Regions from separate parts of the Homo sapiens genome. Here regions 1, 2, 3, 4 and 5 are each linked to region 6. Evidence: promoter capture Hi-C in 16 types of primary human blood cells and fetal thymus (Javierre and others, 2016). All regions are on one chromosome and are shown on one strand. Each heading gives the region's core, a stretch centred on a gene start or on the middle of the fragment in contact. The rest is flanking DNA. Distances are from core to core; before and after follow the strand shown.

What was found. Contacts are between HindIII fragments. The CHiCAGO score rates a contact against its expected background, and 5 or more counts as called.
Region 1: a fragment that was not itself captured here is called in contact with the fragment with the promoter of CCDC148-AS1 in region 6 in 2 of 17 cell types (endothelial precursors and erythroblasts); the score reaches 8.5 in endothelial precursors.
Region 2: a contact is called between a fragment that was not itself captured here and the fragment with the promoter of CCDC148-AS1 in region 6, in 9 of 17 cell types (endothelial precursors, naive CD8 T cells, M1 macrophages and 6 more). The highest score is 7.8, in endothelial precursors.
Region 3: a fragment that was not itself captured here is called in contact with the fragment with the promoter of CCDC148-AS1 in region 6 in 9 of 17 cell types (endothelial precursors, naive B cells, M0 macrophages and 6 more); the score reaches 9.9 in endothelial precursors.
Region 4: a contact is called between a fragment that was not itself captured here and the fragment with the promoter of CCDC148-AS1 in region 6, in 5 of 17 cell types (endothelial precursors, megakaryocytes, naive CD4 T cells and 2 more). The highest score is 9.8, in endothelial precursors.
Region 5: a fragment that was not itself captured here is called in contact with the fragment with the promoter of CCDC148-AS1 in region 6 in 14 of 17 cell types (endothelial precursors, naive B cells, total B cells and 11 more); the score reaches 15.0 in endothelial precursors.

The regions. Positions count from the first base shown.
Region 1 is chr2:158,802,158-158,805,358 of GRCh38, reverse strand. It overlaps DAPL1 (death associated protein like 1), which reads right to left. Exons shown (of 4, transcript NM_001017920.3): 2 at 990-1,077. Among named protein-coding and RNA genes, the nearest start is that of DAPL1, 8.4 kb to the right of the region's middle. The HindIII fragment of the contact is 676 bases long and covers 1,511-2,186 here.
Region 2 is chr2:158,718,388-158,721,566 of GRCh38, reverse strand. All of the region lies in intron 1 of PKP4-AS1 (PKP4 antisense RNA 1), which reads left to right. Among named protein-coding and RNA genes, the nearest start is that of PKP4-AS1, 15 kb to the left of the region's middle. The HindIII fragment of the contact is 2,469 bases long and covers 673-3,141 here.
Region 3 is chr2:158,687,963-158,690,991 of GRCh38, reverse strand. The region is part of intron 1 of PKP4-AS1 (PKP4 antisense RNA 1); the gene reads left to right. Among named protein-coding and RNA genes, the nearest start is that of PKP4-AS1, 46 kb to the left of the region's middle. The HindIII fragment of the contact is 2,492 bases long and covers 372-2,863 here.
Region 4 is chr2:158,775,269-158,778,486 of GRCh38, reverse strand. No RefSeq gene overlaps it. Among named protein-coding and RNA genes, the nearest start is that of DAPL1, 18 kb to the left of the region's middle. The HindIII fragment of the contact is 384 bases long and covers 1,450-1,833 here.
Region 5 is chr2:158,758,781-158,762,048 of GRCh38, reverse strand. No RefSeq gene overlaps it. Among named protein-coding and RNA genes, the nearest start is that of PKP4-AS1, 25 kb to the right of the region's middle. The HindIII fragment of the contact is 3,967 bases long and covers 1-3,268 here.
Region 6 is chr2:158,165,365-158,168,411 of GRCh38, reverse strand. It overlaps CCDC148-AS1 (CCDC148 antisense RNA 1), which reads right to left and starts at 1,762. Exons shown (of 5, transcript NR_038850.1): 1 at 1,689-1,762. The HindIII fragment of the contact is 5,438 bases long and covers 1-2,142 here.

The DNA of each region.
Region 1 (3,201 bases), core at 599-3,098, 640 kb before region 6:
GTTAGTTTCTGATATCAGAAATAACAAATGACTTGCTGCTAATGGAGCGAATCAGTATTTCATTCTAAAGTGGAGGGAGGCAAATCCTCAAAAAATGTCTTCCCAGAAATTAGGAAGCAATCTTTAAAAGTGATTTAAAAATAATTTTATAGAAAAGAGTCAAAGAAGTGCCACAGTCTATTTCCATTCTCTTTCTGATATGGTTTAACTCTTATGGAGGTGCCTGGAGCATCCTCTACTCAGATCCTTTTGAATTACTCATCAACTGATCTGTGGAAACCATTTCAAAATTAATAGTCTCTGAAGCACTCCTCAGAAAGAAACAGTTCTGCGTGTTTCTTGTTTTTTGGAATGCTCTGGTTTTCCTTACCCAAGGCCTAGACTGGTTGGGCCATTTGCTTACCTGATCCAGCCCACAGCTCTCTGCTGAGTTCTGAGAATAGGGCAGGCGTCAATGTTATGGTGGAAGGAGCAGCGGGGAGGCTGCTCGGTACCTATGTGTTTCTGGCTATGCCAAATATAGTGGCCATTACTTTCTAAATAATTCAGTGATGGGTTTAAAACAAAAAAGACATTTATTTTTAATTCAGGACATTTACTTCAGCAGAAAGCATATTATGAAAACAGGGCCAGCCTAGGAACAATATTTTAAAGGCTGATCTGAAAATAGGATAAAAGGATGTGTGTCAGGTTTGGATGCATTTAGGCCTGTGCCTATTAAGTGCAAGGCCGCTGGGCTGGATGCAGACAGGAGGAGAATGGGTGGGGGTCGTGATGGGAGCCCTCTCAGAGGGATCCCTCCAGAGGGTAGCCACCTACCTTTCCCCACCCCTCACCCTAAGTCACCACGGATCACGCCCTCCCCCTCCTGCCCCCTTCTCTGGCTGCCTCCAAAGGCATAGGGAGCCTTGGTTTGTCCTAAAATAACTCCTGGAGGCAGAGTCACTCAAAACTCCTCAAGGTGATGGAGAAAAATTAAGAGTCCCTACCTTGTTTTCTCGAATCCTGTTTTTTTGGTATGTCTTTCCAAGGTGCCAATTTCTTGTTTTTTGGAAATTCTCATTCCTCCAGCTTTTACTACAAACAGATAAAAATCAGCATGGAAGTTAGAACAGTGAGAGAAGGCTTGCTTTGTTATTAAAGGTATGACTTTAGATTTGAAAATAATTTTTGAACTTATTTTTTAAAGATCTAAACGTTTGTATAAAACAACACAATAAAAAATATATATATTTTATTGGCAAACCAGGTGTGGGTGGAGGAAGGGCTGAGAGCTACTTGTTTATGCTCAGAGAAGTGGAACCAAGACTGAAAAAGCAGAGGTTACACCTTAGATTTGGGGAGGAGAATAACAACATACTCCCTTAGGCATTTCACTGAAAAACATTTTTTCTTATTATCAAACCAATTACATTCCCCACAATAGCAACCGACAATTACAACGTGACCCTCTGTTTTCCCACCAGATTAAAGTTGTGCGTGGCTTGCATTTTTTTTTCCAACCAAAGCTTTCAAAAGCCAGATTCTGAGAGATGAGCCAAAAGTCAGGGCACACAGTGATAAAAGGCATTTAATTCAACAGAGATGGTTCTGATTCTACCAGATACCCACCTTCCATCCAGACCCCAAAACTCCGGTGTTGGCCAAGCTCAGATGTTCTAATGAGTAATTAAACTGCATTAATAATCCTGCCATTCAAGTGATCAATTAGTGTTAATTAGGCTACAGATGACCTAACAGCAATTCAAGTGTTTAACAATGTCAGATGAAATCAACTTTTGAAAAGGAACAACCCATTTCAAGATAGCAAGTCAAAGCAAATGCTTTTTTTCTGTTCCCAGGAAATTTGCACATCTAAAATCTGACAAGCTCAAATGAGAAAAAGCTAAATGGACATTGATTTGTTTGAGCCTGTTAATTCTTTTTATGAAAATGCCAGATTGGCGATTTTCTAAAACTGTGGTCCAATAAAGTGAAAAATAAAGAAAATGTATTCTATTTTTCTGTGCCCTTGTCAACTGACTTCATCATTGTTCTTTACAATTATTACTTAATTTATTGTCTTGGTTATCTTATCTGCATAAGGCCCAAAATTCAAAAGCCATAAAAAGGTCTGCAGTCTCCCTCCTACAATTATTTTCCAACTTCCTAGATTATCTCCCAAGATACTGCTAATGTTATAAGCTTCCTGTGTCTTCATCCACAGTTATTCTACACATACACTCAGGTTTTATTTTTTATAAAATGGTAGCCTAAGGTACACATTGCTCTACATCTTGTTTATTTTCTTCACTTAATCACATATTTTAGAGAAAGTTCCAAATCTATATTTACATCTACATCTATATCTCTATATATCATCTGTGTGTTTTTCTTTTTAACATCTGCTTTAACATTTTATTGTATGAACATCCTGTGTTTACTTAACCAGTTCCCTAATGTTGGACATTTCATGTGTTTCTAATCTACTGCTATCACAAACAATGCTGCAATGAATATCCTTTTGCTACCAGAAAGAGGTGTCTTGATCCAGAATCCAAAAAAAGGTTCTTGGATCTTGCACAGGAAGAAATTCAAGGCGAGGCACAGAGCTCAGTGAAATAAGCAAGTTTATTAGAAACAATTCCATTACAGAGTAGGGTGTCCTCAGAAAGTGAGTGCACAAACACACTGTTTTTCAGTTTTTCTTATATAGGGGTCTTGTCTATGTAAAGACTAAACTGTGACTACATGCAGGTGAGCAGACAACATGACAAGATTTATTATTCTACTGATGTAAAGAAAACCATCCTTGACGATTTGGTGTGTGAGTACATCAAAGCATAACTGTTACTATCTTGAAAGCATTATCATTATGGGTATTGGCCCATCTGGACTTTCTGTGGTTCTAAGAGTTTGTTCTTGCAGGCATTACCAAGCTGCTTCCTCAGCTGTAAACATCTTAGCATCATGGGGTTGTGACTAGCAAGGAATGTGCCTCGCTCATTCTAAGATGGAGGTGATTTTCAAATGATGTCACTCTGGCTCTTTTAGGTTCTTGCTCTCCTAACAGTTTTAGATACATAATTTTGCACAAATACAAGCATACCTGTTGGGGAAATTCCTAAAAGTGATCTTGTTAGTTCTTAAGAGTATGCGTGTTTGGAATTTTGTTAAATCTTGCCAAATTGCCCTTAGCAGAGGTTGCACCAGTTTAGAATC
Region 2 (3,179 bases), core at 658-3,157, 550 kb before region 6:
TACATGGAACCGTATAGTATTTGTTCTTCCGTGTCTGGCTTATTTCATGTAGCATCATGTCTTCAAGGGTCATCCATGTCACAGCATGTGTCAGAGTTTTCTTCCTTTTTCAGGCTGAATAATATTTCACTGTGTGTAACATCCATTTTGTTTATACACTTATTTGTGGATGGACATTCGGGTTGCTTCCACTTTTTGGTCATTATGAACAATGCTGCACATTTCTGTTGCTGTAAGCCACTAAGTTTGTGGCAATTTGTTACAGCAGCCCTAGGAAACCTTGAGATGTTGATTGGACCCTCGGCCTTCCTGCATTCCATGCTATAAATCAAGCAGAAGCACAGAATTGCTCCAGGTGTGAGCAGCTGATCCCCTGCATCAGAAGCACTTGGGGGAGGGTGGAGATGAAAGACTTTTAAAAATGCAGATTCCTAGGTTCTACTGTCTGCTGTGTCAGGTTAGGGCCAGGGAAGCTGTATTTTTAACATGTGCACCAGAAGATTGGTATATGCGCTAAAGTTTGAGAACTTGTAGTTTGAGACCTGGTGGGTTACTCTTCCCAAATGAAATGTGTGGTTATGTGCATCTTCTGGATATAATCCCTTAACCTGAAGAGATGACCTTCTTGGCAGGGGTGTCAGGCATGGGGGGTGAGGCAGGTCTCTCTAAGCTTTCAAATCACGTGGTAGACAGTGTGGAAAGATGAGAGAAAACATCTGTTACTTTAAAAGTCGAGTGCGATTTTTTTCATTGGTCTGGGAGGAAGATAATTGTTCCCAGAGGTTGAGTGGCCCTATTGTTTGGGAAAAATGACAGGAGCCCTGCTACTGCTGAGAGATCAGGTTCTGGGCCTGAGCTGGATGAGTAAAGATGAAACAAAGGAAGGCTAAATTGCTCTTGGAAATGAAGAAATGTTGAAGGTTTTTGGTGTCCAGGATGTAGATGAGTTGAGAAGCTAGAAGATCAGACCAGCAGGAGATGACAGAGTCGTCTAGAGGCAGCTCTGAGGGGGTCATGGGGCCCAGTGGCATGGCCTAAGGCTGGAACATATGGAAGACGGGACCAGAGAGGAAGCCTCCCTGGGAAGCAGAGGCAGCCTAAAACTAGAAGTGATGTCTGCCTGATCATGAATTTACCTTGTAGTCTATGCTGTAATGACCCTCTTTTGGCCACCAAACCTTCAGTAAAATCTGTTATGTGTAGCTTGTGTACAAAGACCCTTGCAGAAAAGAGATTTTGTGCCATAGCAGAACATCCCAAGAAAGGGGAGACGGGGGCATTGCAGGAATTGTGGTCCAGCGAGGAAGCAGACTCTAGGCAAGGACCGACCAGAAGAATGTGAGCTCTTACTGCTACAAATGCATGGATACATTCAGGGATGCTAGACCTCCTGCACCAGGAATGGGGACTTTTCTCAATACCAATACCATTTTATTTGGTATTGAAGAAAAGGGGGGTCCAGAAGGATGGAGAACCTTTGGAAAGGATGGTTACACATAGGCAGAAACTGACTAGTCTCTCTAGGGAGCTGGCTCCATGGAAGTCACCTAACTCCATGCCTGTGCCTTTCAGCACCTTTTTAGGTGAGTGGGTCCCTTAGCTCATCACTGAATTGAGTTTTCAGACATCACAGCTGGAGGATCTTTGGTGAGAGTCTCTCTGATAGAAGGTGGGTGGTGTGTGTGTGAAACAGAAGGTTCATCCAATTACTGATGGGCTAATAAAAACTTTCAATGTTCTGAAGGTGGAGATGAATAAAAAACACAAACTTTTCTTTTTGATATTTTTCCTACATTCTCCTAAGCCAAATGCTCAAGCATGTGGAATTTAAATAATTGTTTTTAAGTCAAATCAATTTTGGAACCGAGAGAGTTGGAGGTTTATAGACTCCTCGGTCACTGGCGGATTGCTGATTAATGACGCTGGTGTCTGTAATTATACTGCTGTCAGGAGGCTGAGTGTCCTCGATAAATCCAGGCCCATCTGCCTTCCCAAGACACCAGGAAAGGAGTGTCTTGATTTATGCCCTGATTGGCACATATTCTCTTTACTGTACCTTAGAGAACTCTCAACTACATAATGGTTTGAGAGGTCAATTTTCATCTTGCTTGTATTGAGCAACCTAGAATTTAAGTGTCCTTGCCCATGATTGTGAGGACATAAATTGGGTTTTTCTTCTCATTGCTCTTTTCGTTCATTTTTCTCTAACTTACCTCTTTCATATGAAAAACTGGGTGTGGTAGATCACAAAAATTCAGAAAGGGGTGACAATTCCCACCCCTCTCTGAATCCATGCCCTTTAAACGTGGCTTCACCACTCTTCCCATCAAGAGACAGAGTCTATTTTTCCATCCCTTAAATCTGAGCGGGCCTTGTGACTTGCTTTGGCCAATAGAATGTAGTGAAAGTAACAATGTGCCAGTTTCAAAAAGCCCCGCGGCCTTTTGCTCTTCTCCCTGTAAGAACTCTGCCAGGCCTTGCTGCTGGTTGATGACGGACACGTGGTCCATCTCTCCCCACCACCTCCATAAGTAGAAGCAGTGCCTACATGGCCTGTGGCTGGGCCCAGTGGAGACCAGAAGAACCCCCCAGGCAGAGCTTGGCTTAAACAGCCTGATTGCTGAATCATGGGCTAAATGAATTGTGGTTTTAAGTTTGGTTTGCTGTGCAGCATTATTGTGGCAATAAATAACTGATCCCCTGGGTACCTACTGTATACTACTGCTGTTCTAGAGTTTGGAGCCACAGAGAATCAGAGATACAGAGGTGGATAATGCATAGTTCTGGCCCTTGAGGAGCTCACAGTCTGTGGAGGCAGACAGCCCCAACAAACATGCCATTCTAATGGGAAGTGACAATGGGGACAATTTTTCTTGAACATTATCTATGTGCTGGACATGATGACAGGCATTTTATCTACATTATCATCCCACTTAGTCTTTGCTGTAAGGCTATGAAGCAGACGCTATTATTGGCACATTTTATAGGCAAGAATACTGAGAACCATGGAGGTTAGGGCAGGACCTGATTCCAATCAGCCCCTGGTTTCTGCCAGCCCCTGATGCCCCTCTGTAACAGGCATAAAGCATTAAGGAGTCAGAGGAAGGGGAAGCTGGCACTCAGGGGGTAGGGGCAAAAGCTTCACTGGGACCTGGCCAGTGGGGGAGACTGGAAGCCTG
Region 3 (3,029 bases), core at 368-2,867, 520 kb before region 6:
GGGCTTTCTAACCTCCCTTTACTGGGTTTCCTCACCTGAAGAATGGAGTTGACAATAGCGCTTTCCTCTTTACCTCCCAGTGAGGTCATTTGCCAGAGGATCTTGCTCAGTGCTTGAGGTGGAAGCATGGACAGCTGATGGTGGTGGTGTTATTTCTTGGGCCATGTTTCATCCCTGGGCACTGGGCTGAAGGCTGGCCACCCTCTTGGGTTTTGTTCCCATGTGTAAGCACATGACTGGGTGGGGAGGTTAGCTCACACCTCACTGGATTTGGCTGTCCGAAGTTCCATCTGGGGAAGGGAGGAGAGAAGTGGGAAAACCAACTTCAACCTCAGGTTCAGCCATGTTCTCCAAAGAACTTGCTTGAAGCTTTGTCCCTTGGGGTGATGGGTGCTGGCCCAGGCTAACCTGGTGGGACTTCTGCCCTCAGTGTGTGTTAGCCCTGAGGCACTGGTGACAGCCCCTTCTTATCTACTCCCGTGAAAGAGTCCTATTTCACATATTGAGATTCAGTTTGGTCCAGAAGTTTGGATGTGCTGGGGTTTCTGAAGGCCCAGACATACCTTAGGGCTGAGACCAGAACTGCAGAGGAATACACCCAGGGGTCACGTGGATTAGAACACTATCAGCTTTCTCACTCCTGAGGTGGATTTGGGAACTATAGCTTGAACCAGAACAAAAATCAGTCTTCTATAGATACCTGGGTTAACTGAACTCACCCAACCAAAACTTGAGGCCTCCGTGCAGTGCAGCACCAGCCAGGATAGTCTGCCCTGCGAGGGAGGCCAGATGCTCCGGCCCTTTGCTGGGCAGCTGGGCTCCTTGAGCTTACTTTGTTTCTCCTAGTCTCATGAGATGATCCCTCCTTTGCCCCTGAAGAAGAGTGAGGAGTGAACAGTGAAGACAAAGATACAAGGTTTCATTCCACATCTTCCAGAATGTCTGTGCTTCCCTTTTTATAGACTTGCAGGGCTATGAGTGAGTCCTTATTGGAGATGGTCTTTGGTGGTAGGGCCCTTCCCTCCCTTTGAGGCAACAGCCCTTTCCCAGCTGAACTGCCTGGCCTCCTGCCCCTGCTCCTGCCCAGCAGAGTTGCTCCTTGAGGCTAAGCGAGGTTGGAGGGGTGGGGAGGTGCAGTGGGATTGGCCCGTACAGGGGAGGGCCTCTCTTCTGGGTTCTTTTGATTCCATGAAGTGTTTAGTCACAGGTCTGGACTCGGAGCATATTTTGTGAACAGGCCATTTGATAGTTTTCTTTTCGAAGGCATCAACTTTGATTTGCGCCAACATGCTATTTTCCTAGTAATCTTTGCTAAGGCAACGTTAAAATGGATTTGTATTATTTGAGCCTAATTTGGCTGGGAAGCTGGTAGGAAGCTGGAGGGGGATTCCTGGCTGGGAGAGGGTTTGTCACAAGGGTTGACTTTAGCATAAACATCAAGGCTGGAGGGGACGGCTGTTCTGCTTCCTTAGGGAGGCAGGAACAGCTAATGGGGTCTCTGGAATCCAACAGATTCATCTGGCAATCCCCAATTGAGGTGACCTTGGGCCACTTTATAGTTCTGAGGACAGTTTTCTCTTGGACATTGTTTTAGGGTTGTTATGAAGATTAAATGGGATAATGTGGTTAAAGCATACAGTACTGTCCTTGATATCTTACATCCTAGCAAATACTCATCAAAAGATTATTATTATTATTTTTAGGAGTGATCAAAAGGCTGAGATTTCTTTCATCTTCACCCCAAACCGCTGAGAGAAACTTGTTTTTTTGTTTGTTTGTTTTGTTTTGTTTTGGTTTTGTTTTTTTGTCTCTTCCTCTTGACTTTCTTCCTGTACTCACGTTCCCTGGCTTTCTCTGTAGTCTGCATCCCACCATTCTCATGTATTTCCTTTGTTTAAAGTTAACCCAAAGTTTAGCTTGAGTACATCTTGTTCTATTGGGCTTTCCTTGACAGCTCAACCCAGACTTGGTAGCTGCTAACTGCTCCGATGGACTCAGGAATGTTACAAATTCTTGGGGGCAATGGCAGACGTGTCAGCCCCAGATTACCCCACAGTGCCCAGAACATTGAAGGAAGATTGCCACAGACATACAGTGAGTCGCAGCGACTCTCATCTGGGTGGCTGAGGGAGGCAGCTGCTGCCTCAGCCTACATGGCTTGCCAGTCAGGAGCACACAGAGCTGTCTCTAGGGAGCTACTTTTTAAGGTCAGGTGTTGGCCATACATGGTTTATCATTATTTTTGTTTTTAGCTATATAACCTTTGCTAAAATGATCTCAGGTGGACATGGAATATAGAAAGCAGCGCACAGTGGGCTGCTCTTGGTGCAGTGGGGAGAGGCACCTGGCATCCCTCCCCTTGACTTTCGCACTTCTGTGGACTCCCCATGGCTCTACCCCATGGAGATTGGAAGCTACCAGGAGGGTGGGGCTTCTGACCATAGATTGCTGATGGTTACTGGCTTTCCGTGGTTAACTTTTACACTATGACATGGAGCCTGACTGCTGAGGACTCCTACCTCTAGGACAACTTGAGCTTGAGAAGTTTCATCCAACCTTACTTATCTTTCATGCCTAGGAGCCCTGGGTACTATGGCTTCTGCCCAAGCATGGGAATAATACAACACGTCTCCAGCTTGGAGCATACATTCATAGGAACCGAAGAAATAAAAGTGCAGAGGTCATCTATCATCTTGGGCAGAGACTGAGAGTGACTTCCTCCTATCCACCCCCTCCTTTTCCTTACTAACACAACCTACATGAGTAGAGGTGGCAATAGGACCTGGTAAAGATTCCTTTTCCAAGTGTCTCTTATAGATAGGAATGGCCAATGAGATGTATGGGCAGGGATTCAAGGAAAGCTTTTTTAGGGGTTTTGACTCAATTGCCAAGCTCCACTTTCCCAACTCCTTTCTCTTTGTTGAGGAATGAGGATGTGATGGTTGGAGCTCCAGCAGCTAGCCAGGAAGCCATGAGGATGAGGGTCCTACCCAAAGAGTAGGATAAAGCTTACTTTATGCCATGAGGGC
Region 4 (3,218 bases), core at 392-2,891, 610 kb before region 6:
ACATGTTTACTTTTTAAAGAAACTGACAAACTGTTTTCCACCCCAGGGCATCTTAATCACCAACTATCTCTACAAAGGATAGGCTGTTTCTATTAACTTTTTCATACTTTGCTTATAACTTTTGTGCAACCTTTTCGCTACAATGTACTATGGCAAACTATCACTTAGGCAATATAGAAACTCTCTTATCACATGCCTTTTGTTTTCTCTATTTGCTTGTTCTTTTCATCTTCTGATCTTTAGAGAGCAATAGAGATAATAACCAGCTCTACCCAGAAAGGAAATCAAAATAATCTTTTAAAAACATACGGTAATATCTGCTCCTGTTCTCACCTTGGGTTAAGCAAAAAAGGAAAAGGAAATTTGATCTGAATATTCCAGGAAAAAATAGACTTTAAACTCTGCCTAAAAAATGTCACAACAATTTGATGATGTGGTCAACATTGTGCAAAAGAATGAAAATTTATAAAAAGTGAGTCCCTATGCAATAATCTTAGTTGCTTTTCTTTTTATAGTGAAACATGTTTTTAAAATTACTCTAGTATTAAATATACACTGCACCTTTGTTGAAAGGTGCAGTGCTTTGAAAGTACACTGCTCATTGCTGAAATCCTGCCAGAATTAAAAAATGAGGCAGAAGAATAGCATTTTGGGTCAGGCATTGATCACAGCAAGAGGATGGAAAACAGCGAGTAGTAATAATAGTAACAATATGGAAGCAGAGTGACGGACCCCCAGGGCAAGAAGAGCCAAGTAGAGGTCAATTAGCCCATCTGACTCGTTTAACTGTATTTTGGATGACAGTATTATTCTGCAATACAGTACCTCCACATTTCTTTTCCATAAGCGCATACAAGATGGACACAATTCAATAGTCCCCCTTATCCTAGGGGAATATGCTCCAAGATCCCGAGTAGTTGCCTGAAACCTTGGATAGTACTGAATCCTATATATACTATGTTTAAAAAAAATACATACATACCTATGATAAAGTTTAATTAATAAATTAGGTACAGTAAGAGATGAACAACAATAACCAATAATAAAATAGAACAATTATAATATTGTACCAGCATCCCCACTTTTGTGTTTTGGGCCATTACTAAGTAAAATAAGGGTTCCTTGAACACAAGCACTGTGATAACATGAAAACCACGAGGGCTACTAAGTGACTAATAGACAACTGGCCACTTGAATACAGCATGGAGATGCTGGACAAAGGGAGGTTGCATGTCCCAAGTGGGATGAAGTGGGACGGCCAGAGATTTCATCACGTTACTCAGAATGGGGCACAACTTAAAATTTATGAATTTATTTCTGGAATTTTCCATTTAATATTTTCAGACTGCAGTTGACTGAGAGTAACTGAAACCATGAAAAGTGAAACCATGGATAAGGAGGGGACTTCTGTACCATCTGTTCTAAAAATATAACCAAAAGCTCAAAGCTTCAATTAAAAGAAAAGCCACTCTCGTTGGGGCTTAACTCTGTAAATCTGAGCATAGTAATTTAAGAGACAGGATTGCACATAGGTTTTCATGTCTGAGGGAGCTGGATTTGAATACTGTCCTCACCTCTTCTTAGCTAGCGGTAAGTGTTGGGGGATGATTCTCCATGGGTTTCTCACATTTCTGCTCTTCTTGTGTCAGCTTTTGTATCAGAGAATCTATTCAAGGATGTTTGTATAGTGAATAGTCTTCAAAGATACAATGTCTCCTTCCAGGTCAGGGAGCAGATGTGTTTGCTAGATCATAAAATTAATGGCATTTTTGGGGAAAAAATTTGGGTGAGTTTACTAGCAGCCCTTTTACAAGACTGGAAGTTTCCTAAGCTTGGGGTTCCTTAGCTCTCAGGCCCATTGCGTGTGTGTCATCCACCTGGACTGATCCCCATTGACTTCGTGGGACTTGGAAGGTAAGGGGAACTTGAGTGACCAACCATCCCAGTTTGCACAGGACTCTCAATGTTAAGTTGAAACAGTCCTGGGCAAAATGATCACTTTAGCTGGGAAACTGATGAGTATCTGATGCTTACACAGCTGTCTGCTATGTCATGAAAATTAAGTCCTTTGTCTCTGACCCAGGAATCATATGTCTTTTGTAAGCACACATGAAACTGGCAGCCTAACTCATTAGCTTGCAAGTAGGGTAAAGTCTCAGACACCTCACAGTTTTTGATAGTGAGATGTTTGGCAAGTCCTTCTCTAAGCCTCCATTTTCTTTACTGTTAAATGCAGATGTCAACATCTGCCTCAGAGAGTTGTGAGTAAGAAATGTACCAGTTTTTCAGAGTCCTCAGCCTGACCACTCTGCCCAGGACATAAGTCTTCAACAGATGTTGACAGTTTGTAACTATAATTCTTATTAGATATAATTGCTCTAATTCAATCATCTAACTGGTTGGGTTGGTGTGGTTTGTATATTGGTATCTTCTTCTCTGTGTCTTTACACAATGGAATGTGTCAGATTTTAAATGCCCAATTAAGTATTTTTAATCATTTTTATTACCAAGATCAGATTGATTCATGGTTGAGTCTAGTTACTGATTAAAATGTCCTTCAACTGGATAATTCAGTAACCTTATAGTTGTTGCACTTATTGCAAAGCTCTTTGTAATCTGGTAAAAACAATGTCTAATGGTGTTTAATGAATGACCTTTGACCTTCCTTAAAGCTTTCCAGGAAATCAAGTTCCAGGTAACACTCTTGAGAGATTATCTGCATGGAGTAATATGGCAGCATTTCACTTTGATCGTATAAAATAAATGTCATATACATACTCATTCATCTCAGCTGCCATGGCAAACAAAGTTGGAAAACAGCATTCCCATTTTTTTTTTGTATTTCCAAAGATTTTATGTATTTTTGTTGTTGTTGATATGTGATATATTTATGGCTCTTTTTTCTAAGAGTCAGAGACAATTTTCTTTTTTCTTTTTACATATAGAATCTTTCTCTGTTGCCTAGGCTACAGTGTAGTGGCACGATCATGACTCACTGTAACCTGGAACTCCTGGGCTCAAGAGATCCTCCCACCTCAGCCTCCTGAGTAGCTGGGACTGCAGGTGCGTGTTACCATGGCTGGCTTATTCTTGTTTTTCTTATGGAGATGGGGTCTCAATATTTTGCCCAGGCTGGCTTCCAACTCCTGGCCTCAAGTGATCCTCCCACCTCAGCTTCCCAAAGTGCTGGGATTATAGGCTTGAGCTACTACACCCAG
Region 5 (3,268 bases), core at 213-2,712, 590 kb before region 6:
GACAAACCTGGGTTAGTCTGGGCAAAGACTGTCGCATCCCCATGAACATGAAGGTAGTAATCCAAGGCCTGGCCTTGTTTCACAAGCGTCTTTGCAGCCAGTGACTCTCCTATTCACCATTGTGGAGCCTCCTTTCTCCTACACACATTCTCCAGACAGGTTCTTACCTGACCTGGGATGGCTGGAAGTGAGGGAAGGGGGAGGGAGGGACTCTGCCTTCAGGAAGCCACGCTCTTGCTCAGTCAGTCATTAGGAACTTGTGCTGACTTGGTTAGGAGGCATCTACTTGAAAACCACGCTGTTAAGCAATGCATGTTCACACACAGACCTTAGAAATCTATTAAGTATTGAGCTGCCCTTCTATGATTGATTAAAATGTCTGGTGCCTTTTGAAAAAATTTTACATGAAAATTAACAAGTTTCTTGTAAAAAAAAGAAAAAAAAGCAAACGCAAACGATAGAGAAAGGTGAAATGTAGAAGCTCCCCATTCCCCCTCCCCATCCCAGCTCCCCAGTGCTGGGTATGTATCCTTTCAGATAAGTTCTACGTACGCACAGGCGCACACACACACACCTTCACATACACTTAGGAAAAAAACCCAAATAGATCATATTGTGCATACAGCTATACCATGTGCCTTTATCAATTATCATATCAGTTAGATCTTTCTATGTTAATTCAGTTTTGTTTCATTTTTAAAGAAAAAGTATAACAAGAAAAGTCATCGGCTTTCTGATAGGTACATATTCAGACAAAGTTCTGTGGCTCCACTAAGCCAAGTTTAGCTGAGAATCACTGGTACAACTGACCCCAGGCTGCCAGCTCCCTGGCCACTGCTGCCTCCTCTCACCTGACCCCCCAGCCCCCATGCATATGCCCATGACAAGGACTGTGGCATCTTATCAGGTACCCATGGAGGTGCAGGCATGAACTCCTGGCAAGGGAGAGTCAGCACGTGGCCAGTTTGGCAGGGAAATGAAAAGACCAGAAGGCCTCCTGGCTCAGTAGTTACCCTGGGTTTGGCAGAAGTACTTCAAAGACTGTCTGGTTTAGTGGATGCTGATGCCATTTCTCCTTATGAATGGTCCAGCATTGGTTGCCAGGCAGAGTCTCCAACAGCTTATGATTTGTTGGTGGCCCAGACATGCTAAGGGAGTCAAATAGCTGGAGTCTTGTTTTTTTTTTTTTTTAATCCCTACCTGTGGTGTGGAGGCATTTTGCCAATTCTATTTTAGGGGTGTAGGGAATGTGGGTGTAGGTGGGGGAGCTTTGATCTTGTATGTAACAATTATAAAGGAACTTGAGCCTGACATATTCCTTCGGAAAGTCATAATTTGAACAATTTCTAGCATTTCGGAGGTTAATTCTCTTGACTAACACCCTCTCTTGTAAACTGCATCTCTGTGATGGTGACTTCTAGACCTTCCTATCTTTTGCCCCAGACGTTCTTAAATTCCTTACCTGTCAGACCTACTTCGTTCCCTGGATTCCCAGGCCTCTCAAATCTAATATGTTCAAAAGCACGACTATTATCTTCACCTAGTTCTTATTTCCATCCATTTTATCACTTAAGAGAGAAACTGCTAAAACATTCTTAATTCTTGCCTTTCCTTCCTAATTGTTGGATAAGTTCTGTTGGTTCTAGCTCAAAAATGTCTTTCAAAATTGCTCCGTTTTTTCTATCCCCTCTGCTACTGCCTCTGTTGAGACTGTCATCATTTCCCAATAAATGTTTATCAACACTACTGCATACCAAAGACACTCCTACCATCCAAGGGTTCATCATTTAATGATCCCATTTAACCTCCAGAGGGATTGTATTAAATTACAAATCTGCTTTTAACTCTTCTCTGCTCAGAAACCTACATTAGCTCCTTGTTGCCTAGGATTCAATGCAACTCCTTGGCTGGACTCGATCTTTTCATGTCATTCACTCCGTCCTGCAATCTTGCTCCCCACCATTCCCCTTAATCTCACCCTCTAGTGGGGTTCCAGTGTACCCACCAGGCCACAAGCCCTGTTTCAAAAATCCTTGTTTTTGCACATGCTGATTGCTCATATGGAACTTCTTTTTAAGATTCTGCTGAAATACGAACTCCTTTCTTCAGTCTTTACCTGCTCTCTGTATTTTCACAACACTTTGCTCAGTGCTTCAGCATGTACTTATCACCCTGTATTGCATGGTTTGCTAATACCTTGGACTCTGCAGTAGTCCCAGTTTCCAGACTGCTGGTAACCGGAAGGAAGGGACTGCATCTTCTTCATGTCGGTATCCCTCACGTTCAGCTTGATGCCTGGCACATAAAGCTAAAATAGGTGGGTACCAGACCGGTCAACTTCTGGGTCACACATCCACCCCCGTGGATAGGTAGGTGTGCAACACTGATGCAGCATTGTGAATGACTATCCCTGTGGGAATGACATAGGATGGGTGCAGTTCTTCGCAGGAAGAGGAGTGCTGGGCAGACAAAGCATCAGATGTCCACTTTAGTTGCATGTTTGTGTTAGGATAGTAGTTCCTTTTACTTGTCATTAAAAAAATAATCATTCAATTTGTCTGTTAGCTTTTATGATTGTGTAGCTGAGGTTCATGAGTGGCCCATTTTATCATATTGAAAGCAGAATAGAGGTTAAAGACAGTAGGTATTTGTCTTAGTTCACTTTCTGTAGCTATAACTGAATACCACAGACTGGGTGATTTATTTAGCTCATGGTTCTAGAGGCTGGGAAGTCTAAGATCATGGTGCTGGCATCCGGTGAGGACCTTCTTGCTGCATCCTAACAAGGCAGAGGGCATCAGATTGTGAGACAGAGCAAGTGTGCTCACTCAGGCCAATCTCTCTTCTTTTAAAGCCACCAGGTCCATCATGGGGGCCCCACCCTGATGACCTTATCTAATTTTCATCACCTTCCAAAGGCTCCAACTCCAATCAACATATGAATTTGGGATTTATGCTTCCAACACAGGCTGGGTGAGGTGGCTTAGGCCTGCAATGCCAGCATTTGGGAGGCCAGGGTGGTTGGATCACTTGAGCCCAGCACTTTGAGACCAGCCTGGAAACATGTTGAAACCCCATCTCTATCCAAAATACAAAAAATTAGTCGGGCATGGTGACATACACCTATAGACCCTACTACTTGGAAGGCTGAAGTGGGAGGATCAGGATCACCTGAGCGCAAGAGGTCAAAGTTGCATTGAGCCGTGGTTGCACCACTGCACTCCAGCCTGAGTGAAAGAGTGAAATAAATAAAATAATAAAGTTTCAA
Region 6 (3,047 bases), core at 513-3,012:
ACAACATTTGATTCAGTTGACAACTACCCCATCCAGAGCATGCTTTTCTCTTGGCCTCTATGATACCAGCCTGCTTCACCTCTTGCTTCTCTGGTCATTCCTCAATTCCTTTTCTGACTCCTCCATCTCTATCCATCTCCAGATGTTGAAGTGCTCCAGGATTAGACCCTTTAACTCTATCTTTTTAATTGTATTATCCAAGGGGACATCCTTCAATGCTGTACTTTAGTTTTAGCTTTAAATTATGTCTTTTAAGTGTTTTTTAATCTACAGGCTTCCCCCTCCATCCATTTTCCCTGTTTGCATTTTATTTATTGAAGAAACAAAGAAATTTATATGCAGAATTCCCTATGCTGGATTTTGTTGACTTTATCTTTTTGGTGTACTAATAGTTTAATGTATTCCTCTCTCCTTTGTTCTTTGTGTTTGCCATAAATTGGTAGTTGACCCAGAGGCTTTATCAGACATAAGACTCAGGTCGTTCTCTTCTTTTCTTTTTTCCAAGGCTACTTTATTGTGGTGGTGTGTTCCCCCAGCAGGATATGCATGTTATCGGATGGAACTTCTTTTTGCAATTTTTGCTGCCACTAATTCTCAATGCCTAAGTCCATTAATTACTTACAGATTGCATGGTAGAGATATATTCAAATTCAATCACTCTTTCCTTTGTTACTGGAAAAATTACATAAAGAAAAAAATTTTCCTCTTCTGGTATTTGATAGTATAAGAGGAGTAGGCTAAGTGTTTGAGTTTTTTTTTTAACCTAACAGTTTTACAAATAATGAATTTATTCTTTGACATCCTGCAAAGGTGATCAATTTTGTTGTATCTTTATGAAGTTATGAATTTAAATGTATTTGATCATTTACTCTATTAAAGTGTTATCCTTATTGATGCTCCATTTATTCCCCCTTTGCCTAATGGAAACCTTTTCAGTTTGGCTTATGAATTCTATTCAGATAGCCTAATAGACTTGGTAACTTCCTTGCTATTCCAGTTATCTATTGCTATGCAGTAAAACTTAGTGGTTCAAACTTCATTTTTAAAAATTATTTCTCATGTTTCTATGAGTCGACTGGGCTCTACTGGGTAGTTCTCACTTGGGGCCTATATTAATTTCCTATCACTGCTGTAACAAATTACCACAAATTTAATGGTTTAAACAATGTAAATCTATCTTATAGTTTTGGAAGGTCAAAAATCAGAATTTAATCTCATTGGGCTAAAATCACAGTGTTGACAGGGCTGTATTCCTTTCTCAGGGCTCTAGGAGATAATCGGTTTCTTTGCCTTCTCCAGCTTCTAGAAGCTGCCTATAGTCCTTAGCTCATGCTGTCTTTCTTTTATCTTCAAAGCTAGCAGTGGCAGGCCTAATCCTTCTGACATCCCAGCACTCCACACTCCTCTTTTGCCTCCCTCTTCCACTGCTCAGAACTCTTGTGATCACATTAAGCCCACTCTGATAATTCAGAATAATCTCCCTATTTTAAGGTCAGGTGATTAGCGATCAGAATACCCTTTGCCATGTAACATAACATTCACAGATTATGGAGATTAGGAAATTGACATCTTTGGGAGACATTTTCTGCCTACCACGGGGTATATTATAAATTTGTAGTCAATTGCTAGTTGAGGACGTAGTCATCCAAAAGCTCAACTTGGCTGAATGACCAAGAGGACTCACTTACCTGACTGGCAGTTGATGCTGGTTGTTGGCTGGCAGCTCATTTGAGGTTGTCAATGGGACCGACCACCTACACATGACTTCTCAAGATGGCTTGGCTTTTCATAGAATGGTAGCTGGGTTCCAAGATAGAATTTTCCAAGAGCAAACATTCTAAGAGGTATAAAATGCAAGCTGCTAGACCAGTTAAGATCTACTGCTGGAACTGGGATAGGGTCTTTTCCTCCATACTCTTTTCATCAAAGCAGTCATAGAACTCTCCCAGATTAAAAAAGGCTGAGAAAAAGTCCACTTATTGATGGCAAGGTCACATTGGAAAAAAGTATGTGAAATAGGAAATATTTTTGCAGCCACTTTTTGAAATCTGTCATGTTTGTTATCGGGCATAACAAGATGTTTTAAGCTCATTTTGAATATTTCTTGCTCTGACCTGGAACTAACCTTTTCTCTGAGAAGCTTTGGTTCTTTTTATTGGAAAATCGTATTTCAAAACCAAAATTTGGAGACAAAGAATACACATTGCTACTAGGTTGATCTTCTATTCTAGACCTTTTCAATGAGCATGGTTAGAAAATACACACACACACACACACACACACACACACACTCCCATACATATGCATATACATACACATATACATATACATGTACAGACATATATACAAAACAGGCCAAGTGCAGTGGCTCACACCTGTAATCCCAGCACTTTGGGAGGCCAAGGCAGGTGGATCGCTTGAGGCTAGAAGTTCAAGACCAGCATGGCCAACATGGTGAAACCCTGTCTCTACTAAAAATATGAAAATTAATAAGGTGTGGTCGAGAGCGCCTGTAATTCCAGCTATTCAGTAGGCTGAGGCACAAGAATCACTTGAACCCAGGAGGCAGAGGGTGCAGTGAGACGAAATCGTGCCACTGCACTCCAGCCTAGGTGAGAGAACAAGACTCCGCCTCAAAAACAAACAAAAAAAACCCAACAAATCCAGACATACGCTTATATTATCTAAAGATAAAATTTTTTTTTATTTATTCTGTTACTTCAAATTCCATAGGATTTTCACTTGATATCTTGTATGTTACTTTTGTATTTTCTTTTTTCCTTACTGACAATTCTGGTGCCCAATTACACACGGATGTTAGAATATGACATAATTACTCATTTACATTATCCACACAAAAGTCTTAGAATAAAATACCAATATAATAAAAACAAAAATAATAAAATTTGGGGTTATTATGCCTTTTCTATTCTTTTTCTTTTTGTTATCTATATTGCGAGGGACTGTGTAGACATTATACACACTCTCTTTTATCCATGATTGAATCTTATTCTATTAGTAAATATATATTTACCAATACTGCCAGT